Linked DNA regions of Homo sapiens: regions 2, 3 and 4 are each linked to region 1. The links are contacts of gene promoters, found by promoter capture Hi-C in blood cells and fetal thymus (Javierre and others, 2016). All regions are on one chromosome and are shown on one strand. Each heading gives the region's core, a stretch centred on a gene start or on the middle of the fragment in contact. The rest is flanking DNA. Distances are from core to core; before and after follow the strand shown. Region 1 holds the start of OR6B3 (olfactory receptor family 6 subfamily B member 3). Region 2 has its middle 61 kb from the start of LINC01940. Region 3 has its middle 64 kb from the start of MIR4440. Region 4 has its middle 43 kb from the start of MIR4440.

Region 1 (6,695 bases), core at 2,796-5,295:
TCCAGGCTAATTGGCAGTGTGGGGCAGTGACTTCTCCGTGGCAGGATAATTGGACCCTGGAGTCCCCACATCTGTGCACAACGGGGAAGGAACACACAGCCCCTTCTTCCCTGGTGCCGCCTACAAACCAGCTCTCAAGACTGGCCGGGCTGCCTCAGAGGCCGATGGGCCACAGGTGCCAGTGGGCAGGACAGAGGGAAGTGCTGGGCTGCACCAGGCTGAGGACAACCACCGTGACTCCCGCAGCTCTCCAGGGTAGGTTCCTTCTGCCAGTGAAGTGACTGGGTCTGGGGGGCAGCCCCAGGATCTGATTCCTCAAGGGCAGTGGTCGGGGTTGAGATCCCTGCCCCATGACTGGCCCGGGATGTGACTGCACAACGTGGGACTCCCCCTCGTAGGGCCCTGCCTCCCACCTCAGCTTCCTCTCCCTCTGCAGTCTGAAATCTTCACCCAGGGGCACAGGCACAATTCCCATTCCCATGTGCCCCACCCTCTGGCTTGCCTGCCTGACCCACAATGTAGAAAGATGGAAGAAGCCACTGCAGGTCTGCTCACCCCGCATCTGTGCCAGGCATGGCATGTGGGTGGCACCTGCTCTGCTTCGCGCCCTCCCTGCCTGTCCACCACACACCGCCTCTCCCTCCCTCCTGCTGCAGCCTGCTGAAAGCATGCTGGCAGGCACATTTCCGAAAGGCCATGTTCACTGGGTCTCATGCCAGTGACCGGCTGCTGGGCCTGAGCAGGCAGGGCTGTTCTGGGGGGCAGGCGCGGGAGGTGGCGGGCTGGAGCTGCTGCCAGAACACCCACCTGTGCCTGTGCCCTCGAGATGCGGAGGGACCAGAACTCAGGTGGAGGACTGCCCCTTGCCTGCTCCACCTCCTCCTCTCTGCTCTTCCTGCTCACTCTCTGTCTTCCTCTCTCCTCTTTTGCCTCCCTCATTCGAATTTCCTCTTATCCCATCTTTGATGAGGCTGAAAATGACAGGAGGTTTTCCTCGCAATTGGGAGGTTTGAGGGCTGCGAGAAAGAAAAACAGACTCAAAAAGCCCTGAGCTTCGCTTCCCGCAAACATGATGCTCCAGCCAAGTGGATCAAGGGTGCCAGTGAGGCGTCCGTTCGGAAGCAGGACGGTTCCCCTGACCCTGATCCAGCCAGGGGCCTGACCAGTCCCCCTGTCTGACTCCCACAGGGAGTGACGGCCCTGAACCATCACATGAGGTCCCAAACTCAAACCTGTATCCAGTCCCAGACCCACCCCAAATTCCATCAACAACTAGCAGCTAGGGGGTGCCCCTCATCCCCTCACATTGGGCCTGGGCCAGACTTCGCCGTCTTGGTGATTTTGGGGACAGGCGTGACAAGGGATGGGCAGGAAGACGTAGGTTTCTAAGACCCTCCACCCCCTAGACCTTGCTGCCGTGTCCCCTCCAGCCGCACGCTCATCTCCACTGCAGCTCAGAAGCATGCGTTCCAGGCATCCTCCCCGGGGACAGATCTTCCCCAGAAACACATTCTGGAGGACTCTTGTTTGGTGTTTATACTTTCCATTGTGATATTAACTCCACAGAACTGGGTTCAGAAAAGCTTTCAAGTAAAATACCTACTTACACTTCAAGACACCAGAAGTAAAAGGATGAAATGTTTTGGGAAATGGTAAACTGTGAAAGTACACCAAATTGTATCACTGTTTTCCTTCCTCCTGAGAGGCATCTGCTCCTGCTAGCTCTGTGCCACTTCCTTTCCAATTCTGCCTGCCCCATTAACATTGAGCTTCTGCCCCCAAACCCTCCCTGATATGTTTTCCCTCTGCCGTTACCAATGGCCTCCTACCTGCCAATCATGCTCCCTCCTCTTGGAGGAGCCACCGTGTCCTGGCTTGGGCCACACGTCCCCGAGTGTCTCCCCACGTCTCCCACCACCTTCACCAGCCCCTCTTCCTCCTCTTCCTGCTTCTAGAGGGGGAGGCTTCTCAACTTTTATTCTTGCCCTCTTAGTCTTCATATTTTCCTTGGTCAATCTCATTCACATCCCTGCAGGCAGCACAGATTGACTTCCTGGTGTCACTTTTGATTCTCAGGGACCCAGCCAGAAAGCCTCGTTGAGGCTGCCTTCAGCACACACCGGACAGGTTTGCCCTTCCCACGCCTCCTGCCCTGGCCTGCGCTCCTGCAGCCTTTTCCCTGATGACCTCAGGGTCTCTGCACGGGCTCCCCCTCCTCACCTGACTCCTCCAGCCCGATCTCAATGCAGTGGTCAGAGTCAGCCATTTACAGTGTGGGTGGTGCCATGCCACTGCCGTCAGAGTGAAAGCCAACGTCCTCACCATGGTCCTCACCACCTCAGGCTCTGAGTGGGCTCCTTCTGCTCTTGGTTGTCACTGTCTCCTGCCACTCCCTATCACTCTGCTGCAGCCAGCCTTGCCCCAACCCCCTGACCCCCTTCTTGCACTCCCCAGCCTGCAGCCTTTGCACCTCATTTTCTCTCCACCTACGTGTGTCCGACAGACAGCCACAGGCTAACTCACATCTTCTTTGAGACTCTGCCCTGGTGTCGCCTCCTCTCTGGCACATCCCCACCACCACCCCCCAGCCCACCCTGACCTTCTGTTCCCATCCACTCACCACCTTCCACACTCTAAATAATTTCCTTACATATCATGGGTATTATTTATTTTTCTGACTTATTTCCTGCCTTCACTAGAATTTACATTTCATGAAGGCAAGAGTTTGGGACTGTTTTTTTCTCCTGATTTATCTCAATTGCCTGAAACAATGACTGGCACATATTAGACACTTAATAAACCTTGGACCGACCCCCTACACATCTTGACATCTGACCTCAGTCTCTGGTGGGCGTTCTGGATGTCAGGGGTACTCCTGGAGCTCTCTACAGGGTGTCCCATAGGCGCTGCAAGCCCAGCATGCCCCAAACTAAGCCCCTCATCTTCCTCTCTCTCCTCAAGTGCACTTTCCCCCTCTGCAGGGAAACCCTAATGAAAGCAGAAGCCTGGAGGCACCCTGAAATTCCTCATCTCTGGGAGCAGCTAACAGTAGCATCGGGAGCTCAAGTGAGCCCATCAGGAAGAAGCTACGTCTGAGGCAAGTCCTGAAGGGCAACTGGCAGGGCAGCAGTGGGGACTGAATCAGCACGGTGCTCTCATGGCACTGAAGAGGTGCCTCCTGCAGCAGCCAGGGATTCCAGGAGGGGCAGGAGCAAGAGAGGCAGTGAGGCCATAGAGAGGCTGACTCAGGAGCAAGGGGCTTATGCTAAGAACATGCAATGGACGTGGCCAGGAGAGAGGTCTGCGTGTCATTCCCTGAATGTCATTCCCTGCTACTGGGATGATGGATCAGACAGAGTCAGGAGAGACTGGAGGAAGACCAGTGAGAGAGCGGTGACAATAATCCAGCCTGGGAGGGACGGAACCTGAACAAGGACAGGGTGGATGGCAGCCCATGAACGTGGAGACAGCAGACCTGATTCTGGAGGCATTTAAGATGTGGGGCAGAAGGACTCAGGCGTGCTCGGGTGTGGAGGGAGGGGAGGGGAAGGGTCCACACGGGAGCTCAGTGGGGCATCCGGGGGGCGTGGGCAGCCGCACCACTCCCTGAGAGGAAGAGCACAGGGGCAGGGGCTCCATGGCCAGGGGAGGTCTTGAGTCATTGGCTGGACACAGGAGTTAGTTCTGCAGAGGGATCGGGGCAGCCTGGGAGTCGTCAGCTGGAAGTGACTACAGGAACCGCAGGGGCGGGTACATTGTTCTGAGTGTGGACGGTGGGGACGGAAGGCTGGGGCCACAGCGCCAGACACTGAAGGAAAGGGGAGCAGAACAAGAGCCAAAATGTGGGCCCAGAAATGAGCAGAACGTCGCTGGCTTCTGGGGACAGCTAGTCCCCGAGGTGCACAGCGACAGAAGCCGCATGGCAGTGGGAGGAGGGAGTATAACTGCCTGTGAGTCTTTATGTATGGGAGGAAGAGACCTCATCAGAGGCATTCGTGGGAATGTGCACCCCAAGAAGACAGGGGACATGGGGACCCAGAGGTATCTGAGTAGGAGCAGAGACACATCATTGCCTGCCTCGCGCCCTGCCCTGCAGCTGCAATCAGGTAAGCAGTGGGCAGACGGGGCAGGTGCTCCCAGAGAGAGGGGCCATGCTGCGAGCAGGGTGCATCTTGCACTGTCCACAGGGTGCATTGTGAGTGCAGGACCTTGAACGGTGTTGCCTCAGATCTTCCAGCTTTTCAAAAGAAACCAGATATTGGTGCCTCTGTGTGAAATGTTCTGATTTTCAAAAACAAAGGTCAAAGTGAAAGTTTTAGAGAATTGTCCTTCTGAAACGTGCAGGATAAATGACATCCCAATATACCCAATATACAGGCGTGTGAGGAACTGGCTTGAGAGGTGCTCAGAAGCCACTGGAATTCTCGGTCTGCCCCACCATAAAATCTGTCTCCCTATTTATGTTTAAGAAGCGGTGGCTCATGCCTGTAATTCCAGCACTTTGGCAGGCTGAGGTGGGCGGATCACCGGAAGTCAAGAGTTCGAGACCAGCCTGGCCAACATGGCGAAATCCCGTCTCTACTAAAACAGACACAAAAATGAGCTGGGCACCTGTAATCCCAGCTACACGGGAGGCTGAGGTGGGAGAATCGCTTGAACCCAGCAGGCGGAGGTTGCGGTGAGCCGAGATCATGCCACTGCACTCCAGCCTGGGCAACAGAGTGAGACTCTGTCTCAAAAAAAAAGAAAAGTCACAAATAATCTTTAATTGGATTATTCTTTAAAAATCAGTGCTGAAAGGAAATCAACGAGCAGGCTATGCGTGTCGGGCCCACGGGCTTCCAGCTTGGGCTCTACCCTGTCGTGTCCACAGAACAGCAGCTTAGGAGAGGCTGGAGGACCGGCAGGCATCGCAGGCTCTGTCCATCTGAAATGCACTTTCTGATGTAACATATGAAGAACAGACCCGGTTGGTTTTTAGCATGGGTTTAATGAACTATCCTGACATCATGTTTAACACAATCCAGGCTTTCCTTGCTAATAGTATCACAGAAATCCTCAGCTCTGATGTAGGGCTTTCTATACTTTCTCTATGCTGTTCCATTGACTTTATGGTGGTGCTCGTTATCTTTAGTATTTATTTTATTAAATTATTATTTTATTTTTATTGTAGTTTTTCTATCCAAAATAGAAACGCCTCTTCATTAACCTGCTTCTCTTTTCTTCTTCCTGAATTATTTTAGCTATTCTCATCTGTTTATATTTCCAGATGATTTCAAGAATTATTTCATCCTGTTTCAAGAAAAATATAATTTGGTGAGATTTCAAATAGAATTGAGTTAAATTTCAAAATTGATTTGGAGATACTGACATTTTTACAATATACTTTTTTGAATCTAAGAATATTCTAATTAGTCATTGTTGGTATACAGGAAGACTACATTTTTGATATTCATTTTGAAATCCCTTAATTATAATAGTGTAGCAGATTTTTCAGCTTAAAAGTCCTGCCATCTGGAAATAATGATAATTTTGTCTACTTCTTTATTCTGTTCTGTGGTAGCTAGTACAATGGCACATTGTTACGTAGCAGTAGTTACAACAAAGAGCCCTGTCTTAATCCTGACCTTGGTGGAGCAGGAATGATCCTGGTATTTAGCTGTGGGGATGCTGTAGGCTGTTGGTTGAGGCTGGTATTATTTATCATGTTAGGAAAAATCACTTCTTTGGGGATGACAGATGCATGAAAGTTTTGGGAGAGTTTTTAATCAAAGCCTTTTAGCATTAGCTAGACTTCAAATGTGATCCTTTCAGCAGATTTGCTAACCTCGAAGTCTCTTTGCACCGCTGAAATAATCACGCTAGTGCCACGTGAGCTCTTTTAAAGTGCTGCTGGGTCCTAATTGCTGACATTTTATTTGAGTTTTTTAAGTATAGTAAAAAAGAAAAAAATAATCGATACATAGTTTTTCTTCCCTGAAATCTTCATCAGGCTTTCGTATCAGGAATTTGCTATTTTGTAAAATGAATTGGGACTTTCCCATGCTCTCTAAGGGTTTACCTAATGTAGGAAAGATCTGCTCCTGGCATAGCTAGAAGCTGGGCACAGGCAAAGTATCTGGGCCTGTCGGTTTTCTCTGAAGCAATTTTAACATCATGATGCTGTTGAGCTTTCTGTCTTCACTCAGTTTTCTCAAAAATAGACCTTTTTCTTGCCTTTAACAGTCACTCTTCTATGATTGCTTTTAATCATCTTCTAAGCCCCCAGTCTTCCTTGTCATCTGTAAACTGAAGCTGGAAGAGGACCACTGAATAAAACACATATTAGGTGCTTGGTAAATAGCGCCAACCCTTCCCCTGTCATTTGGTGGGTCTCCACCTGCAGTTTACTCTTTTTTTAGTCTCTGAAATTGCGTTGCATGCTCATATTTTCCTGTTTCATCTGTTTTACTGTCCTCAACTCTAAGCCTACTTCAGAACAAGTTTTTGCTGCTATCGATCAATTCTATTATTTTTTCTAATTCATAAAAAATGATTTTTATGCCATTGTTTTTAGGGAAATGTGTTATCTGTGATTCTGCTTTGGAGACAGATTGAACATTTTTTGATGCCATTGCCGATGATTTCTCCACATTTTCTAAACAAAAGTGTATATTTTCTCAGGGTTGTGAGTTTATTATCCCTCAAATCAACAT
Region 2 (6,695 bases), core at 3,066-5,565, 1.1 Mb after region 1:
GGCCCTGAAGAAATATCAAAGTATTTTATTCCAAAATGTATTTTTTTGACATATTTTGAAATGGCCCTGCAAAGCTGTCTCTTGTGATGGAAATCAATATTCTATGGAGAATTCTCCTCCATTTTCAGGTCTTTTTTCTGCTCCTGAAGAGATTAACTGAGAGTCTAAAACCTTCTAAAAGTCTCTATTTCCTCTAAGGGTAGCCACCTAAGAGACTTCATCTATATAATAAAAACCTTGGTTTCCACACCCCCTTCTCTTAACCTAGACACTCCTTTCTATTGATTCCAGGTCTTTAGATAATAACTTAACACTTTGGGGCCTGTTGTGGAGTGCGGGGAGGGGGGAGGGATAGCATTATACTATATAGGTATAGTATCGCTATATAGGTTTAGTGATATACCTAATGTAAATGATGAGTTAATGGGTGCAGCACACCAACATGGCACATGTATACATATGTAACAAACCTGCACGTTATACACATGTACCCTAGAACTTAAAGTATAATTTAAAAAAACATTAAAAACTTAACCCTTTTAACCAATTGCCAATCAGAAAATCTTTGACTCCACCTATGATCTGTAAGCCTCCACTTTACTCCAAGTTGTCCTGCCTTTCTGGACTGAACCAATGCATACCTTGCATACATGGGTTGATGTCTTACATCTCCCTAAAACATATAAAACTAAGTTATAAACCAACCACCTTGGACACTTGTTCTCAGGACCTCCTGTGGCTGTGTCATGGGTCATGGTCCCCACATTTGGCTCAGAATAAATCTCTTCAAATATTTTATAGGATTTGGATTTTTTTCATCAGCACGATGGTTAATATTCAGTGTCAACTTGACTGGATTGAGGGATGCCTAGATGGCGAGGGAGGCATCGTTCCGGGTGTATCTGCAAGGGTGTTGCCAGAGGGGACTGACATTCTAGTGGGCGGACTGCGAGAGGAAGGCCCACCCTCAGTGTGGGTGAGCAACATCCAATTGGCTCCCGGCGCAGCTGGTACAAAGCAGGCAGAAGAAGGGGGATAAGCAGCTTGCTGAGTCTCTGCGTTCTCTTCCCATGCCTGATGCTTGCGTCTTCTCCTCCTGCCTTTGGACATCAGACTCCAGGTTCTCCAGCCTTTGGACTCTGGGGCCTGCACTAGCAGCCTCTCGGGGGCTCTTGGGCCTTTGACTGCAGACTGAGGGCTGCACTGTCAGCTTCCATGGCTTTGAGGCTTCTGGACTTAGACTGAGCACACCACTTGCTTCTCTCTTTTCCCAGCTTGCAGGCAGCCTATTGTGGGGCTTTGCCTTATAATCGTATGAGCCAATTCTCCCTATTAAACTCCCTTACATTTATTCTATTGATCTGTCCCTCTGGACAGCCCTCACTAGTACAGCCCACCTCCATGTCTTTGCTGCCTCCACCTGCTTGGTAGCTGAAAGCTGTCTGCACAACCTGGTCCAAGACCGAGCCATCGGTATCATCCCAGGGACTGCCTCAGGGATGAGGTGTGGCTGCACGCCCAACCTAGGTAGGGCTCATCACAGGCCCTCCTGCATTTTGTGGCTGCCACTGGTGAGAGGGCCCTGCGTCTCCAGCTATGGGCCTCCCTGCCCTTGGTGGGCCCATGATCTTATAAGGCTGCTCTGGCTGATGCTGAGTGCACTTGGACTCCAGCACTTGCTGCCAGAGTCCTGCCCAAGCAGGTGCCTGTTTACAGATTGGCCAAGAATGAGGCCTGTGTGAGTGAGCAGATGGGACAGGGCATGACCGCCCACCGCTGCCTTCTCAGGGAGGGAGGGCGGTGGCAGAGACAGATGGAGAGGGATCACTGGGGAAGGCTGATGGCACTGGGGCTGCCACAAAGGACCATGACCTGGGTGCCTTCAACAACAGGAACTTACTCTCTCCCAGTTCTGGGGGCCAGAAGTCTAAAATCCAGGTGTGTCTGGGCTGTGCTTCCCCAAAGGGTCTCCTGGAGAATATTCTCGTCTCTTCTGCCTTCTGGTGGCTCCAAGCTCTCCTCCATCTCTGCCTCTGTCTCCGCATGGGCACGGCCCTTGCCTCTCCCTGTGTCTTCTCCTCTGTCTCTTAGGAGGACATCTGTCGTTGGCTACTTAGGATCTACCCAGATCACCCAGGATCATCTGGCCTCGAGAGCCTTCATTTAATCACACCTGTAAAGGTCCTTGTTCCAAACAAGGAAACAGTCACAGGTTCTGGGACATGGGCTTATCTTTTGTGGGGGCCACCATTCAACCCACTACAGGTGTGGTGTGGACTTGGGATGGGGACTCGGGTACAGTGACTAGACACAGCCACTGCAGTGCCTGCCAACCTGCAGAGTCAGCCCTGTCTGCAGCCACGCCCTGGGGGACCCGAGGCAAGGAAGGGCTGGGAGGAGGCCTGGCCCATGTCAAGGAGGAAGTTAATAAAATCGAAGGACAGCAGTGCAGGGCCTGAAGAGGGATGTTGAGGTGTAGCATTTACCCGCTTTGCACCCCTGTCGGGGGCTCTGTGAGGACCAGCATCAGCTGCCTAGCCCCTGGGATGCGCTGACTTCTAAACAGATTGACCCTCAGTTCCCAATCCAAGTAGCACGTGCCAAGGAGGCCATAAGGAATCTCCTGTTTTGAGTTGCTTTTTCATAACACCTCTACCCCTCTTCTCATTCAGTTCACATGGTTTATTTTACATTTGGCAGTTCCGGGGCCTGCCCACCCTAGGAATAGATGCTGTGATTTCTTCTTTGAGCCTCTGCAACTCCTCAAGCCTGACTTAGAGCATCCTCAAGTCACAAGAGAGAAACAAAGGACGGAAAGACGCAAAGGACGCTTGCTGGCTTTCTCTTTTAAACGCCTGGCTGACCACATCCCCGACTCTGGGCTGAGCCAGGGCCCGAGGCTGGCCCCAGGCGCTGCCCGGAGCGGGAGGCAGAGCTTACGCCTTGCATCTTGCCTGATGACAGACCTCAGACAATTTCTGGGGCAGAGGAAAAGAGCATAATAAGCTTAATTTCAGCATTGTAAAGGTTATTATTATAATCATTTCCCTCTGAAGAATTGTAAATAATTCATTTGCAAAACTCTAGTTGAAGTCTCTAATTAGATTCTCCTTGGGCTCTTACAAAGCTCCTTCCGCCTCCAGTTGCGAAATCCATCTAGTTTGTTTTTTGTTTTGTTTTGTTTTGACCGTCTCTCCATTCAGCATGCTAAGAAATCAGCCTCATATTGTTTTCTTGTGTTCTCAAATTATGTTTCAATGGTGTGTCCTGCCTGTCCCCTCACCAGGGATGCTTGCGGGAGGGGAGGATGCAAGGGGGTGAGAAGGGCATTCTTGTTAGGCCACATTTATGCTCCTCTCTCGGGGTCGTGAGGCGTCCCGGGAGTCAGATGCTCTGGTCCCTGCCTGCCCTCTGATCTCCACGCCTGAACCCGGCAGAAGAGGGAGGGTCTCCTCAGGAGCGGGACAGAGCCTTCCACAGTGACCCCAGGCTTTACCGGCTCTAAAATCCAGGGCTGTCTCTACTGGGGCTAACGCAGTAGGCGCGGGTCTCTGATGCATCAGAAAATGTCCCTGCCTCTGTCTTCCTCGTCCTCCAGATCCTTCTCCTGAGGCCACAAGTGAGCGTCCCCAGGTGCACTTAGAGAACTGCGGCAGGTGCCAGTGCAGACGGCAGGTGACGCTGCCAGAGGAAGGAGAGAGGGTTTCTCAGGGCGGCGTCCACCTCAAGGGTGGAGGGTCTGGGGGTGTGCAGGGCGTGGACTGGGGAGTGTCAGACTGGCCCTGTTTCCACCTGAAGAGGACAAATGTGGCTGCGCGTCGGCACAGGTGTCCAGGAGGGGCTCTTGGAGGGGTCTCTAGGGAACACTGACCCGGACTGTGTGTCCTGGAGCTCTGCGGTCGCCCCATGCGCCTGCTCCCTGGGCCTGCCTGAACCCGCGCCCCGCCGAGCCCCCAGACCCTGCCTGAGCCGACCCGCCCTGAGCTTGGAGCCCTCCGCGCAAGGAGACAGCCCCAGGGGAGCGAGAGCGAGCCTTGCTTCCCAAATGGCCGGGGATAGTTTTGAATTTAGGGGTGGGTGTGTGTGCCAGGAAGAAGGTAACTTGAGCACGTCCTGGGTCACCGAGAGGGTCCCTGCATTTGGACCTTGGGGCCGTTGGTTGCGCAGGGCAGGTGAGGCCAGGGGCTTAGACCAGGGCCTGGATCCCAGCGAGCCAGGGAAGAGCAGGGCGGCCCCGCGCAGAGGCTGAGGCGCCTGCCCTGGGGCTGGGACCCTGCACGCATCTCCCACCACCTGAGGCAGGGGTCCCACCATTCTGTGGGCGAGCCTGGGTTTTAGCCAGCCGACCCCTCCCCCGCACGTCCCCTCCTTGCTGTGGATCTGAGAGGATGCGCCGGCGCAGGGATGAGAAAGAGGCAGCCCGCGTGGAGAGGCAGCGGGGCCGGACTGCAGGGAGTGGACTCCTCTTGGAGGAAGAAGGCGGCAGCGAGGACATCGCTACTGCCTTTGTTCCCACTGGGAAGGGGCGGGCCGGGAGCTGAACCAAGGTTAGAGGGCGATGGAGAGGGGAGCGAGGGCCCCAGTGTGCCAGGCCCAAGCCTCCCAGGAGAGCTGTCCGGCGGCCCCGACAGGCTGGAGTGCAGCCTTCCCTCCGCAGGCCTAGGGCTGCGCTGCTGGAAGCCCCGGGGCTCTGCCAGCCAGGGTGTAGCCTGGCTCACTGCAGCACCACGAGCCGAGGGACCCTTCCTGGTACAGGTTTTGTCTCGGAGCTTTCTTGGGAGGGAGGGAGTCGTTCCCCGGTGTGACGCAGGTGACCTTGGTGGATCCTCCCGAAGGCCACGTGAGCACCGCTGCAGGAGCTCTGTAGGGACGGGTTGAATGGCTGTGGCAGCGGAGAGGTTAAATTAGGAGATTCATATTGACCCCCCTAAAAAGTACTGTCCCTTGAACGGTCGCTCAGTAGAACAGGGTCTTCTTGGCTCTGCAGCAGCCCCGTGGAGCCTGGGATGAGCGGTCCTGAAGTTTGAGCAATTGCAAGGGCGAGGTCAGGGGGCGCTGGGGACCCTGCCTCCCAGCAGGAGGGGAAAGACCCTCCCTGAGGGGCCCGCGCGGGCTTTGATTGTGTGCCCAGACTGAACACGTCCATCCTGGGTAACCTCTGGGGTAAATACTCAAACTCCCTGGGCCCCAGCTCTATGGTGGGGCCTCCCGCTGAGCGCCAGGGGCCGGCAGCCCCCATCCCCACATTCCTGTTCGGTTTTTGTGTTGCGCCCCTGACATTTGTGTCTCTCCCGAGGCCCACCTCGCCTGTTTTTACGAGATGGCTGGACGTGGGAAGGCCCACGCTTGGACGCTGGCTTTGTCCTTTCTGGTATGAAGATAGCTGGCTTGCGAGTTAGTAAACTCATAAACTTGGTCTTATAAACACTCATCATTCCAAATGTGACATCACCTCTATGTACATACATCTTCTTAAACCCAAATATGCAAAAATACCTCCCAAGCAGCTGCCACATTGCAGAGAATTTAATTAAAGGAAAGGCCCCTTTTGGAAATGTGTTTATTTTACCATAAAAAGGGATGGAGTTGCCCTTTCTGGAAGTTTTTCTCTCTAATTAAGCTTAGCCCTGATTACCGCTCTGGAGGTGGCACCCGTAGGAGTCCTGGAGGGAATGTCTCTGGGCTGATAAAACCCAGGACAGTTCAATGAAAGCCAACACAAACGGACTCAAAAGCTGTGTGATTTTTACAAAGGAGGAGAAGATGAAAGCCCTTTGGTACAAAACAAAATATGTATTTTTAAAAATTATGGTTAAGCACATGCTCATTGACCTGGATTCTGCCAGCGTCATGCATGGTTCCGTACTTCTGTAGGAAAAGCAGCTCCCCACCAACCACAAAAATGACTGTGTCTCACTATAGATGCACATGTTGAAGCTTTCTTCAGTCAAGTCAGAGACCTTGAATGCTTATTTTTTCTCAAATTTTGATATATGTTATTTGACAATAATTTATTTCTAAACAAAAATATTTCCTCTTCAAATCATTCAGACCCTTTCTTGGAAAACAGGTGAAAACATTGAACAGGATCATTTAATATTGACCCTGCTCACAGCAGAGTTAGATGGTGGATCCTGACTCAGTCTTATAGCTGAGAAGAGAGAAGCCAGGTTGGAAGCTGAGTGATCTCCATGCTTCCTTTAGTTACCTGTTGCAGAGTGAGAAGCTGACTACACAGATGGACACTGGTCAGACCGTGTATACAAACAGAGCGGCCGGGCGTGGTGGCTCATGCCTGTAATCCCAGCGCTTTGGGAGGCCGAGGCGGGCTGATCGCCTAAGGTCAGGAGTTCAAGACCAATCTGGCCAACATAGTGAAACCCCGTCTCTACTAAAAATACAAAAAAAAGTAGGTGGGTGTGGTGGCGCACACCTGTAGTCCCAGCTACTGGGGAGGCTGAGGCAGGAGAATTGCTTGAAACCGGGAGGCAGAGCTTGCAGTGAGCCGAGATTGCGCCATTGCACTCCAGCCTGGGTGACAAGAGCGTGACTTCGTCTCAAAACAAACAAACAAACAAAAACAAAGCTCTGGCCTGCAACCTGCGGCAACCAGCCCCGGAAACCCACCCCTTTCCTACAGTGACCAGCCCCGAGGCCAGCTTGCTGTCAATAAGCCAGATGTGGAGGAAGGCAGG
Region 3 (6,695 bases), core at 2,761-5,260, 1.0 Mb after region 1:
GAGTTTATCACCTAAGTGCCTCATCTAGGAAAGCACTGGAGAAACAGTTCTAATGAAATGGCAAACCCAGAAACGACATAGCAGAGACCTCCGGATGAAGGAGGATGGAGAGGAAGGACGCAGTGGCATGAGGAAGCTTCATCTACTCGGAGGCATCCCGAGGGGCTCAGCCGTTCGGAGCAGCGGAGGGGCACAAACGCTGCAGGGTGGCTGGGTGTGGTCTTCACAGGGGACGGCAGAAGCATAAGAGAAACTGAGGCTGCGGTGTGAGTAGGAACCTGGCTGCAGTGAGTTATGGGTTGAGAGAGACAGTGAGTGTGTGTTTGGTGCACATAAGTAATTGTCTTTTTTTTTTTTTTTTGTCTCACTCTGCCACCCAGGTTGGAGTGCAATGGTGCAATCTCGGTTCACTGCAACCTCCACCTCCCGGGTTCAAGCAATTCTTCCTGTCTCAGCCTCCTGAGTAGCTGGGATTACAGGTGCTCACCACCATGCCCAGCTAATTTTTTTTTTTTCAGTAGCGACAGGGTTTCAAATCCTCTTAAGGGCACATTGATAAGTCTGGTTGAAAATAGGATTTGATTCATCCAAAGCAGGAAGAAGTGACTGCTATGAAGGTGAAGGCACAGCCATGAAAGATTGATCATTCTGCAACTCAGGAGGGTCTGTCTAGGGCCCAGGAGCCCGTGTTTTCCTTATTAACCAAAAATAATTAAGAAAGGCGATGATTCCGTCTGCACCCTGAGCTCTGCACGTTGATTTGGTGATGAACGGAGCACCATTGCCATGAGGACAATTGCCAGTCCTTTCCCGACTGGAAGATGGCAACAGCCCTGCCCCATTTCCCCGCCGTATTTATACTGGACTTTAGAGAACTGTGAAAGCCCATCTGGAAAACACTCAAGGCAGGTGAGTGCCCCTCACAAACCCTGTGGAGAACACCATCCTTCCCTCCACCATCATCACCAGCAACAAACGTTTGCTCAACCCACGGTGTGCAAGGCAGAGGGCCCGGTGCTGCAGGGACAGAAAGAGGAATGAGGGACAAATGAACATGATGGAAGGGAAGGGAAGGATGTCTGTGTTCTCCAGGGATTTGCCATCCACCTGGGTGCTGGTCTGATGTCCCTGAGTCACTGAAGCAATGCCAGCAGCATTTTTATGGGCAGAAAGATCAATGCCCGTAAATAGCAGGGCATCCTCCCTGTCAAATAAAGGTGACCTAAGATTCTACCAGTTCGGGCTGAGCTCTGAGTCACCTATTTATTCAAGTTATAATTACTGAGCTCCACTGCAGAGGCTGCTGGACACACCCCTATTTCCTAGAAATGGAACTCTTTCTAGCACCGTGCATGGCTGACTGGAATAAAACTATACCTCCCAGACTCTCCTGTATCTATGGTTGGCCACATGACTAACATCCGCTTCATGGCATGTAACTGGAAGTGTTGTGTGCTGCTTCCCTAAAGGGAAGTGGCTGTGCCCCGAATCATCCCTCCTCCTTCCTGCTGTCTGATATATGGATATATAGGTTAGATCTAAGCAGCCATCTCAGACTACGAGAACACTGGGAGACAGTGGAGCAGAGAGTGGAAGGGGCCTGGATCCCTGTCGGCTGTGTGGAGCCGAGCTGCCCACACCACCTGCACTGTCCACCTTTGGAGTTTCTGCTTGAGGGAACAAAATCTTGTGTGGTTGGGTCAATGGTAATTCGGGGTCTCTGTTCTTTGCTGCTGAACCTAATACTGGTGGATATAAGCGCCTACTGTGCATCAGGACCCTGTGCTAAGGACTGGGACTTTGAGAATGGATAAGAGAAAGACAGCCCCTGCTCCCAGGGAGCTTAGAGTAGAGAGAGAGAAAGAGACAGATCAAAGACATCATGTTACCTGAAATAAGCCAGGCACCGACAGTTACATTCTGCATGATCTCACCCGCATGTGGAATCCAAAAACGTTGATCTCATAGAAATAGAGAGTGGAACAGTGGTTCCCAGAGGATGGATGGGCGGGGGTAGGAGCTTGGTCAATGGGTGCAAAGTTCCAGTGAGACAGGAAGAACAGGCCTGGTGTGCTATGGCACAGCGGGTTAATAAGAATGTATTATATATTTCAAGAGAGCTGGCAAAGAGGATCTCAATGTTATCACAACACAGAAATGATAAAGGTCTGAGGGGTTGACATGCTAACCACCCTGATTTGATTATTATACCACGTGTGCACGCATGGAAACATCACGGTGAACCCCAGAAACATGTACAATTGTTATGTGTCAATTCAAAACAAAAATTTTGTTTAAAAAGTAAGCTAACAAACACATTCACCCCAGCTGATAAATTCAATAAACTAAGGGAATGGCTTGCTTGCTAAGTTAGAGAATAATGGAGACAGACAGAAAATAGCGGCTAGAAAGGGCTTCTAGAAGGAGGCGGGTTTTAGGGAAAGATGGAAAGAGGAGTAAAGGGCATTTTAAGAAATTATCTCCTATTATTAATCTTGGCCAAAATTCAGAAATGGGAAGAGAGAGGCTGATCCATCTGCAGCCAACAAGGGCATTTGCATAGGGCAAGGACCCAACCCCGCAGCAGAGAAGGGGAGCTCCTCCCAAGCCAGGGCAGGTGGTCTTGGGGTGTCCCCAGTGGGTCAAGCCCTGGGGCTGTAGCTGGCTGTGGTCGGGTTGTATTCAGCTGAGGGAACACTCAGTCACTAGCCTGAGTCTCCAGACTGCCTGAGACACAACGGCTCTTTGCATGAATGCAGATTCCTGGGCCCTGCTCACTGGAGATTTCTGATTTTGTGGAATTAAATTGTATTGGTGAGATCTAAAAAGCCCAAGGAATAATGAACTTTCAAAAACTCAGATTTAAAAGGGGTCTCAGGTTGTCCAGCCCAAACACCCACAGGGCTGTGACCCTCTCTCACCCTTACCTGCCTGCACAGCTACCAGCAGAGGCAGGTTCTGCCCTTCCAGGGCTGCAGTCTTCTCCCTGTAGGAAATTGTACTGAAAGGAAATCTGGGCCGGGCGTGGTGGCTCACGCCTGTAATCCCAGCACTTTGCGAGGGTAAGGCAGGTGGATCACTTGAGGTCAGGAATTCGAGACCAGCCTGGCCAGGTGCAGTGGCTCACACCTGTAATCCCAGCACTTTGCGAGGCCTAGGCAGGCGGATCACTTGAGGTCAGGAGTTCGAGACCAGCCTGGCCAACATGGTGAAACCCTATCTCTACTAAAAATAAAAAATTAGCCGAGCATAGTGACAGGCACCTGTAATCCCAGCTACTCGGGGGGCCAAGGCAGGAGAATCGCTTGAACCTGGGAGGCAGAGGTTGCAGTGAGCCCAGATCGTGCCACTGCACTCCAGCCTGGGCGACAGAGCAAGACTCTATCTCTAAATAAAGAAAGAAAGAAATAAGAAAAGAGATCTGACTCCTCTTGCAGGGCTGCCTCTGGAAATACCGAAAATAAGATTAATCTCTTTTCCAAATGAGAAGCTTTCAACTTACCACGGCCCTGGACGTCTCCTCTTTCCCAGGCTAACTATCTTTGCATCCTACAGCCATTTCTCTTGTAAGCTTCACTGGCAGGCCCCCAGTCCTCTGGTGCAGCAGCCTGGGAAGGGCAGCTTCCTCTCGGCCGGCCCGGATTCCAGAGAGAAGGGAGACGATGGAGACGGGAATATGTGTGCTGTGTTCTTCAGAGGGATTCCACATTCAGGACCCCGCTTCCTAACCATAGCCTGGAGATTTCTGAGGAGGCTTCGAAATGATTTAGTTTAACCTCCTGAATTAGTTTCCTAGGGGTGTCATAAAAAATGACCCCAAACTGGGTGGCTTCAAACAACAGAAATGTGTCCTCCCACAGTTCTGGAGGCCGGAAGTCCTACATCACGGCGGCAGGGCTGGTTTCTTCTGCGGCTGTGAGTGGGAATCTCTCCGGGGCTCTCTGCAGCTCCTGGCAGGTGCGGGGAAGCCTGGCTGCTGGATGCATCACTCTAACCTCTGCCTCTGTCTCCACGTGGCCTCCTTCCCCGTGGCTCTGTGTCTTCTCCCCTTCTCTTCTCTTCTAAGGACTCCTGGCATTGGGTTTAGGGCTTACCCTAAACCAGAATGATCTTATCTCGAGATTCTTATCTTAATGACATGGCCCTTGGGCCAACTAGGGGCACACTCTGATGTTCCTGTTGGACATATCTTTTGGAGGTGGCGCCATTTAACCCAGCAGAACTCTTACTTTACAGATAAATGCCATGGGGGGCAAAAGGGGAGTGGCGTGCCCAGGAGTCCCTGCAGAGTTCGCGAGGAACCTGAGCCTCAACAGCCCTGGTCGGCCCTCCCCGCCCTCTCACATGGAGAACACAGAGACACAACCAGGACAGACGATGGTACGCACGGACCCGGCATTGCTGCAAAATGCGAGGCTTCCATGAAGTTCTCAAGTAATTGAAGCTTACCTCTTTAAGGGACAAAATTATGTTCAAAATGCTCTTTTGATAGTAAGCGTTCTAAACCACAGAAACATACTCTCCCAACGTGCTTAAGAGAATACAAGTTTGAAACAGTCCGTCGGCATTTTGTCGGTAACTCAGGGTGGTTGCCGAGGGGCCATTCCGAGCCGGGGCTGGGCTGTGATCCTTCCAGTTCTGCTCGACTGGCTGGGCCGTGGCCCCTGCCTCAGTTGCCCCCACATCGCCGGCTTCTGGACGTGGTGACTGCCAGCTGTTTCCCCCAAGAATTGGCCCTTCTCAGAATGGCAGCCCATTCATTCGCCAGCTCTTAATGGGATGTGTGATGGAATACACTTTGAGGGGGTGGGTGGAGATATTAATCTTTGTTTTGCTTTCTTATTTCTCCCCCTCATCCAATTTCAAGCAGATCACCCGGCTCTTTGTAATTTTTTTGCCTCGGGGATTTTTTTTCCAGGCAGAACGCCAAAGCAGCTCAAAGCCAAAGGCTCTTTCTGTCTTTTGTAAAAACCTAAACCCATTTCATAAAAACCCAAACCCAGGAGGCGAGTGGGAGGGAGAGGGCAAGATTCACTGAGGCTGGGAAAAGGAGGAGGCTGGTGTCCCCAAGGACCTGAGGTCTGAGCACAGCTCCAAGGCACAGCCTGGGAGGGTGGAGCGCACACGGCTGCCCATGTTGTGCCCTGAGGCTCTCATCCCCGGCAAGGATCCCCAGGCATCGGGCAGGGTGGAGGAACAGCCATCAGCCTGAGGGCAGCGGGACTTGCGTGCGAGTGGCACTGAGGCAGTGGTGACAGCTCCCAGCCCTTCAGCTCTTCTGGGCACCATGGAAGCTTCTGGATCCTGGAGGGACTCTAGGAGGGGAGAGAGTTGCATTTTCTGCCAGCCCCACAGGGTGGGGCTCCAAGTTGGGTTTAAGTTGATTTATGTAAACAAAGAAATGAAACTTCCGGATTTCTGGACAGCACGGCCCTACAAGTTCATGCACTGAGGCCTCTTCTCTGCTCCGAATACGCAGCAGCATTAGAGAAAACATATTTCAACAAAACAAGCCAAGCATCACAGACACCAAAAACAGACAGAACAAAACCCGTGGGTGGGGTCTGAGATGGGGCTTCCGGTCCGGAACCAATGTCGGGGAAGTGCTGGCACCTGGTGCAGCCCCCACGGTTGGGAGCAGAGGCCAGCTGACTGCACAGAGAGACCCCCACCCCAGAGAGGGAACAGAAAGAAAATTCCAGCTGAGTGCTTCTCGGGCTTTAGCTTCCACAGATTCAAGGACCAGGAGGTGAGAGGAAGCAGCCTCCTGTCCAGGACCCAGGTAAGGCACCACCAATGCCATTACTCTATTTGTGATTTAGCCGATGCTCTGTGGGACATGAAACCTGGTTCACGGAGGGCATCCCTGGAGGCTGGGCGAAGACCGATGCAAACCCTCAGGGCAGACAGGGTTGAGTGTATGTGAGAGGCGTGGACAGGGAGAGAAGGAGGAGTGTGGAGAGGGACACGGGGGAGAACCACAGCAACAGGAAAATGACCTTAAAGTAAGTTTTTTAGCATCTTAAAGAGGAAAGACAAGAAATAGCCTAAAAAGAGTAATTGGCTATACACAAAACTTGGCAGAAATGAAAAGGATCAGAACTGATGGAAATGGAAAATATCTAATTAGTAAACCTGAAAATTAAAAAGATGCTCATTGAAATAAAAAGGAAACCAGCAAATGCAATAAAATCCTCAGCAAATTCAGGCAAACAGATCTCGGGTGAAACGGAAGACGGACGTAAGGAATTCTCCAAGAACGCATCACACAGCAACTGAGATTTCAAAAGAAAATCACCACAAAAGAGCAGGCAAGAGACTGGCAGAGTTGGCCGGGCAACTCTGGCCCGTCTTGGAGGAGGTCCGGGAAAGAGGAGCATCAGGTGGGGGAGTGAGATTGAACAGACAACGCCAAGAAGGGTCCCAAGCCCAGGAATGACACAACCCTCGGGCCGGAAGCCACTGTGAGCAAGTCGACCAAACATAAACCCCATCTCTGCATGCTGCTGGTCAAATGTGTCCATAAAGTACCTGCTCGCTGTAAAAACACTTCACCTTTGTGCATTTATAAACAATAACAATAACAAAGATAGGGCAAGATACAGGAAATAACGTTCCTTGTTTAGAAAAAGGACGTAGATACTTTAGATTTCATTAGAAAAAACCCAGAGTGCCGAATGTAGACTAAAAATGAA
Region 4 (6,695 bases), core at 1,318-3,817, 1.0 Mb after region 1:
CTGCAGTTCTTTGTCCATTTCCCTTTGAGAAGTGACTTCTGAGGTGAGTGTGTCTTACCTTAGTGGGTTTGGAGCAGGTATTTGTCACCGACTCCCAAAGGAGGGGATGACTCGAGGGCCCTCGCACGGAGGAGGGCAGGGCCTTGAAAGTTGCCGACGTCAGGCCGGGTGCAGTAGCTCACGCCTGTAATCACTTTGGGAGGCCGAGGCAAGTGGATTGCCTGAGGTCAGGAGTTTGAGACCAGCCTGGCCAACATGGTGAAACGCTTTCTGTACTAAAAATACAAAAATTCACTGGGCGTGATGGTGGGTGCCTGTAATCCCAGCTCCTCAGGAGGCTCAGGCAGGAGGATCGCTTGAACCCGGGAGGTGGAGGTTGCAGTGAGCCGAGACCACACCACTGCACTCCAGCCTGGGCAACAAGAGTGAAACTCCATCTCAAAAAACAAACAAACAAACAAAAACAGCCGGTGACGTGGGTGAGAGGGCTCTGTGGTAGCAGGCAGCAACTGGAGCTGGAGAGAAGGATGAAGTTGGGATTTGATGAGCAAAGGGGTGCAGCTGGGACGGGCAGGACACACTCGCTCTGTCAGCACAGCCTGCTGCCACTCCAGGGAATCTCTGCTGTGGATTTTTTGCCATGGACTGTCCCTTCTGTGGCACCTGTGTCCCAGGTGGGCCCATGCCCCAAGGACAGCCTTCTGATGAGCTGCCCAGCAACCCTGACCCTCTGACCCCCAGGACCTGGCTCCCAGCGACAACCTGGGTTGGGAATTTGGCAGTGGGAGACCAAGGGCTGAGTCAGTCCCTGGGAAAGCTGAGCTGAAAATCATGAGGCTAGTTTGGGGTTGGGAGGCTCCCGTGGCCACAGGGCAGGGCGAGAGGAGGGACAGAACCCAGAAGCCAGGAGAAGAATCCCGAGGATGGAGCCGCTGGTCCCCTGGGCTGCCCAGCAGGGTTCGAGCCCCATGCTGCGCCTGGGCCCACCCGAGCGTGGCTCTGTGCCTTGTGGTCAACATGCCTGGGGGGAAACAAGGTGTCGGCAGCTGGGTCCCTGGCTGTGCGCGCAGCGTGGGCCACCACGCCAGACAAAAGACGCAACTCTGTTGGCTCAGCGGCGCTGTGTGTAGGGCGCGCCTTGGCCCGGCCCCTGTTTGGGGGAACATCTGGTTCTGATTGCGTTGTCCTAAAGATTAAAACTCTTCTGGGGCAGTGAGGGGAAGGGCTTGGTGGCCTGGAGTTATGGCGTCCCCTCCATAGGCGTGCCGGTCCTCGGGAGCTGCTGAAGGCCACCGGTAGGGACCCGCCGTCCTGGCCACTTGCTTGGCAGGACCTCCTGGAGTGCAGTGGCCACTGCTGGGGGCCCTGTGGGAGATTTGCTGAGAAACTGAGAAATGCCAGATTCACACCCGAGGCCTGGAGCTGAAATGGTGCTGACATGAGGGATGGCAGGGCTGACACGTGGCATAGACACGCAGGCCTGGAAGTGGGTCCATAACTCCTTCAGTTTCATTAGCGGTGGGGAGAACATCCTCTTATCACCCCAGACGTTCCCCGGCGCCATGCTCGCCCTGGGTCCTCAGGCAGACGAGGCCAGCATCGTCACGGGCTCTGAGGGCTGTGACGCCTGGTCCTCATGCAGCACTGCCAAGGTCACCAGGGAGGGACAGCGATCCTGGGTGGCTCAGACCAGTTCTTTATTTTTCTATTATTTGTTGTCTAAAACCCTCTGTTATTTTTATTTTTTCCTACTTTTCTCAGTGTCCTAAAAACCCTGCCAATATTTTAGAAAACATCACCTTGAATCAGATTCAAACTCGCCCCGCAGCTCCTGTCAAACTCAGCTCTGTGACCTGGGGACAATAAAACCGGCTGGGAGTGCCGGCCCAGGGTGGGCTGCATCTGAGGCTCTCCACGCATGACATTCTCCTGCCTTGGTTCTCTGGGATCTGGGCCCTTCCTGCTTCCAGCGCCACGTTCCTGTTGCTGACAACTTCCAGGAACGGCCCCCAGGAATGCACTGAGTGTGCTGACAGGGGGAGCATGCTAAGTGTGGGCTGCGAGGGATCTTTTCTCATCATCTATTGAGCTATCCACTCACTCTTCTTGTAACGCACGTCTAGTAATGTTCGCTCTGGACCGTTCCACTCAGGGAGGCTGAGGATTAGGCCACGCGACCTACAGGCCTGTGCTGGCTCGGGTGGCGCTAGCATGACTGCAGCTGGCTGTGCTGCAGGTGCTCCGGGACTGTGGCGGGGAAGACGCCCTGGCGGGGAAGAGAGCCCCGTGTGGATGGATGGAGCTGACAGCCTGGTTGGGCAGACACAGATCTCGTCCCTCTCTGCCCCCAGGATGTGCTGGTGTCTCTGCTGTAGGCAGACACAGCCCCGGTGCTGCCTCACCTCTCACCTGGCCTCCTTCTAGAAACGTGTTCCAGAAGGGACCAGAATAACTCATGCTTGGAACTACGAGGACATCCGTCATGTACCCAGGAAGCCTTTAAGGCAAAGTGATTTCAGCTAAAACAGCTTCTGTGTCGCTGGGACCCTGGGCCCCTCTCTGTGTCTCTGTGACCCGACCCCTCTGTGTCGCTGAGACCCTGGGCCCCTCTCTGTGTCGCTGGGACCCGACCCCTCTGTGTCGCTGGGACCCGGCCCCCTCTCTGTGTCGCTGGGACCCGGCCCCCTCTCTGCAATGGAGTTAAGAGAGAAAAACACGTGTGCAGGTGGGAGGATCTCTGAGTGCACACTCTGAGTGGTGGGAGGATCTCCGAGTGTGCACTCTGAGTGGTGGCAGGATCTCCGAGTGTGCACTCTGAGTGGTGGGAGGATCTCTGAGCGCACACTCTGCGTCTCGGGGGTCCACATGCTGCCTTGGGAGGTCTCTGCAAGGCCACTCCTCAGGCCAGGGCCTCCCTGGCAGCCTGGAGGCTGGAGCCTGAGGGAGACAGGGCCCTGGACAGGGTGGGCCAACGGTGGGGGCGGGCACACTGTTATTTATGAGTTTTCCTGGGGCTGCCAAAGTGAGAGGCGCTCCTAGGGTCTGACCCCCTGCCCGGCTCTGCGCTGGAGGGACGGCCGGGGCACAGCTGCAGCCACCCACAGAGGCAGCCACGTCCCAGCTGTGGGGGAGGTGAGCATGGGCAAAGCAGGGCACATACTTCTGTCCTAAAATAGATTTTATCTCAAAAAGAAAACAGATGGGGATGGAGATGATTTTTTTCTTCTGAAAAGTGCAGGAAGCAGCATAGAGCTGCCAAGCAGCTCCCTCTCCCACCCAGATGCAATTAGAAACTTCCAGAACCCACTTGGTGCAGAGCCCCCGGGACGACCTGGCCTGGGGGGGGCGGGGGGCGGGGTAGGGGGTTGAGGTGGGAGCAGCAGGTGGCCTGCATGGGGCTGCTGCGGACCCTCCGTCTCCCCAACCCCGCCATAGTGAAGGTGAAGCCACGTCAGAGGGCACAACGCGAGGGGCCCTGGTCCCAGCGGAACAGCAGAAGCGTGGATGCAGTCCCCACCCCCCGGATCCCTGCCACACCAGGACCATGGGTGTGGCAGGGACCATGTCTTGCGCAGGACCAGACACAGAGGAAGCCAGGCGGGCAGAGCTGAGCCTCCCTGGGAGACAGTACCCAGGCCAGTGTCTCCTGCCCTAGACAGCACCTCCAGGCCAGCGTCTCCTGGAGCAGACACACCCTCGGCTCTGCTGCTGGGGGTGGCTGAGCCACAAGGTTGGCAGAGGGGACCAGCAAACCCTGCAGAATGCGACCGTGGAGGAGTCTGGATGCAGGAGGCTGAGTTTCCTGGCTGCCTTTCCCACTTGCCTGTAAGTTTCTGTCTTGGGAACGCCCAAAAGTGTTAGCAGGTCTGTCTCATGATTAATGCTATCAGAGTAAAGTCTTGATTCAGCAGAATTCCTCCTGACTCGGTTTTTGCCACATGACTCACTGTCTAACATGGAGGGAACAATCACAAAGTTTCTCAGTGAAAACATCCCGCTTATTCACAGTGAACCTGGGGAGACCCTGAGTGTGGGTCACGAACACGATTCTCAGGTCCAGAGAGGGTTAGGATGAGATTTTATGATCAGGGATGATCAGAGATGTGGGTTTCCTTCTACTCTATGGATTACAGATTTGTACCCAAGTTAAGGACACATTTCTTCTTTGACAGTGTACCCTGTGGGCTTGAAGACTATGGCTGCAAGGTGTGTTTCTGCAGCAAGGGAGAGAAGACCCCTGGGCCTGCAGACCCCACACTGCGGGAGGAGCCCAAGAAATTCACGGACAATTCAAAGGCTTTGGTTTCCAAACAACACATGCAAAGCAAATATTCTGAGGCTTTACTCTGCAAATACACCTCACCATGGCACACAGCATATTCTTAGCTCAGATCTCATGACAAACAATAGTGGCCCCAAGTAGCTGAGGCTGCCACCGTGCTCTGTGGCCAGCACAAGTGGGGCCAAGCAGTGGGAAGGCCCTGGCTACTCTGGGCCAGGGACAGGCCTGTTTGTTCACAGGGATGTGGGAAGCCTGGAGTTCTCACTCTGCAGGACAACTTTATGGAAACCCTGGGCATCCTGAGCTCCCCACAGCCACCAGAAAACAGATGGAAACATGAAGAACAAGAGGGGGCCAGAACCAGGAGGGCAGCTGACACCCTAATCATGGCCACCAAGGGCAGTGAGTGTCTGCACACCCTCCTGTGGCCTCAGTGCCCTTCAGTGTGGCCCGGTCAACATTCCAGGAATGGCGGAGTCGTGAACTGCATTAGCAAGGGAGGCTGCCCCACCTGGAATGTGGGGCTGATATGGGTTGGCTGTGTCCCCACCCAAATCTCCTCCCGTAGTTCCCATAACCCCCAACGTGTCACGGGGAGGGACCAGGTGGAGGTAATTGAATCACAGGGGCGGTTTCCCCCATCCTGTTCTCATGAAAGGGAATGAGTTCTCGGAGAGCTGATGGTTTTATAAGGGGCTTCCCCCTTCACTGGGCACTCATTCTCCTTCCTGCCACCACATGAAGCAGGATGCGTCTGCCTCCCCTTTGGCCACGACTGTAAGTTCCCTGAGGCTTCCCTAGCCCTGTGGAACTGTGAGTCAATTAAACCTCTTTCCTTTATAAATTACCTGGTCTCAGGTAGTGCTTTATAGCAGCGTGAGAATGAACTAATGTAGGGGCTTACCTGGGGACCCTGCTCCAAGCCAACTGAGAGACAAGAGCTAAGGGTCACCATCCACAGAACAGCGGAGGCGGCTTCCAGACTTCCCACAGCCCCCCTGCAGGGCGTGGGGCTTGGGGGAAGAGGGCATGGCCTGGCTGCTGTTCTAAAGTCTCGATTCTTCTAAGGAGGACAGGGAGCACAGCCCAGACAGGAGCACATGCAGGACCTGGGCTGCCCATAGGGCCCACGGCTGCTGTGGCAGCAGCTGTTGGAGTGGAGGAAAGGGTGGAGTTCCTACCTCGCCACTGCCCTCTGCATGCAGCCAGCATCACCCTTTGGGTTTCTGTCTGTGGCGAAGTTTACAAACACTGAGCATCCTCCGTCCTTGAATTGAACTCGGCGCCAGAGAGGCCCCATCCTCGTGCAGTGGGGGAGGGAAGCCAAGGCAGCCCCTGGGCCCTGAGCAATCCCCCAACCCCCAGCCCCAGATTTTATGGCACTACCCATCAATGAGATAGACACTATGAGTGAAATTGGGGTGAAGAAAAAAAGTAAGAGGAAAAGAAATCAAGATGAAGCCAAGAATCAAAAGAGAACCCCAGATGCACACCAAGTGATTCTGTACAGTTGCTAGGGGTGGGTTGCAAATGAGGCTCTGAGTTTCCCAGCAGTCACAGCAAAGGGGGAACCAGCCCGACCTTAACATAACAACAAATATTTTTGCCCCAGTTCCCTAGAAGCCTCCAAAACAACCTGTGGAAGTCTTGGGGTTTTAGCTCATTGTTTTAAGGTCTTGGGTTTAAAATAAAGGACAGGGAGGGGAGAAATTACTTAACTTTAAAACAAGCTAACAGACTGGGAAAGGACAGCATTTTATAATTATTTTGTACCTCACAGAGTCACGGCGCTGTGTTGCAAAAACAGGGAGTGATTCATGGTATTTCTGGAAGTAAATCTCTCCTCTACATCTCCTCCATCACACCTCATCAGGGCCAGCATCACCCATCAGCTGTGTGTGTGTCTGTACGGACTCCCCACCGGCCCCACGTCTGCTGCCGTCAGACCCTCCTCCAGCCCCAGGAGTTACATCCCCAAATGGAGACCTCACTACCCACAAACAGTGAGTGGCTCTGGCCTTTTTTCCACCCTGGCCTCAGCTCAAATCCCCCTTCCCCAAGCTCCCCCCATGTATTTTTCTGGCTGTTTGCTTGTTCTGTTTATCCCCCTCCACTCAGACCTGATGTTGCCGGGACAGAGTCTGCCTCAGGCGGGTTCCTGGCTCTGGACAGTCAGTGCCACGCACAAGCTCTGGGTTGTTTCATCCATTTGCCAACAGCCAATTTGACGATTGATTCAAGCCAATGGCCAAGTTACTCCAAACTGTCAGATATGGTAGGCCCCGCTGACGGCTTGTCACAGCTGTTTTGCCATAAAGTTTGGGGAAGCGGTGAGAGCTGTGAGGATCTACCTCCTGGAAGGGACGATCCTGGGCTCACACCTCCAGGAAGCACAGCACAGCCTGGTGCACTG

Evidence for each region. Contacts are between HindIII fragments. The CHiCAGO score rates a contact against its expected background, and 5 or more counts as called.
Region 2: a contact is called between a fragment that was not itself captured here and the fragment with the promoter of OR6B3 in region 1, in 4 of 17 cell types (M1 macrophages, M2 macrophages, M0 macrophages and 1 more). The highest score is 7.3, in M1 macrophages.
Region 3: a contact is called between a fragment that was not itself captured here and the fragment with the promoter of OR6B3 in region 1, in 5 of 17 cell types (fetal thymus, M1 macrophages, neutrophils and 2 more). The highest score is 7.0, in fetal thymus.
Region 4: a fragment that was not itself captured here is called in contact with the fragment with the promoter of OR6B3 in region 1 in 7 of 17 cell types (neutrophils, M0 macrophages, monocytes and 4 more); the score reaches 6.2 in neutrophils.

The regions. Positions count from the first base shown.
Region 1 is chr2:240,050,871-240,057,565 of GRCh38, reverse strand. OR6B3 (olfactory receptor family 6 subfamily B member 3) reads left to right here and starts at 4,045. Exons shown (of 3, transcript NM_173351.2): 1 at 4,045-4,106. RefSeq lists enhancers at 1,450-2,090, 2,091-2,733. The HindIII fragment of the contact is 11,088 bases long and covers 1,586-6,695 here.
Region 2 is chr2:238,983,952-238,990,646 of GRCh38, reverse strand. No RefSeq gene overlaps it. Among named protein-coding and RNA genes, the nearest start is that of LINC01940, 61 kb to the right of the region's middle. RefSeq lists enhancers at 3,704-4,684, 4,685-5,667. The HindIII fragment of the contact is 2,614 bases long and covers 3,009-5,622 here.
Region 3 is chr2:239,001,714-239,008,408 of GRCh38, reverse strand. No RefSeq gene overlaps it. Among named protein-coding and RNA genes, the nearest start is that of MIR4440, 64 kb to the left of the region's middle. The HindIII fragment of the contact is 873 bases long and covers 3,574-4,446 here.
Region 4 is chr2:239,022,470-239,029,164 of GRCh38, reverse strand. No RefSeq gene overlaps it. Among named protein-coding and RNA genes, the nearest start is that of MIR4440, 43 kb to the left of the region's middle. The HindIII fragment of the contact is 9,608 bases long and covers 1-6,695 here.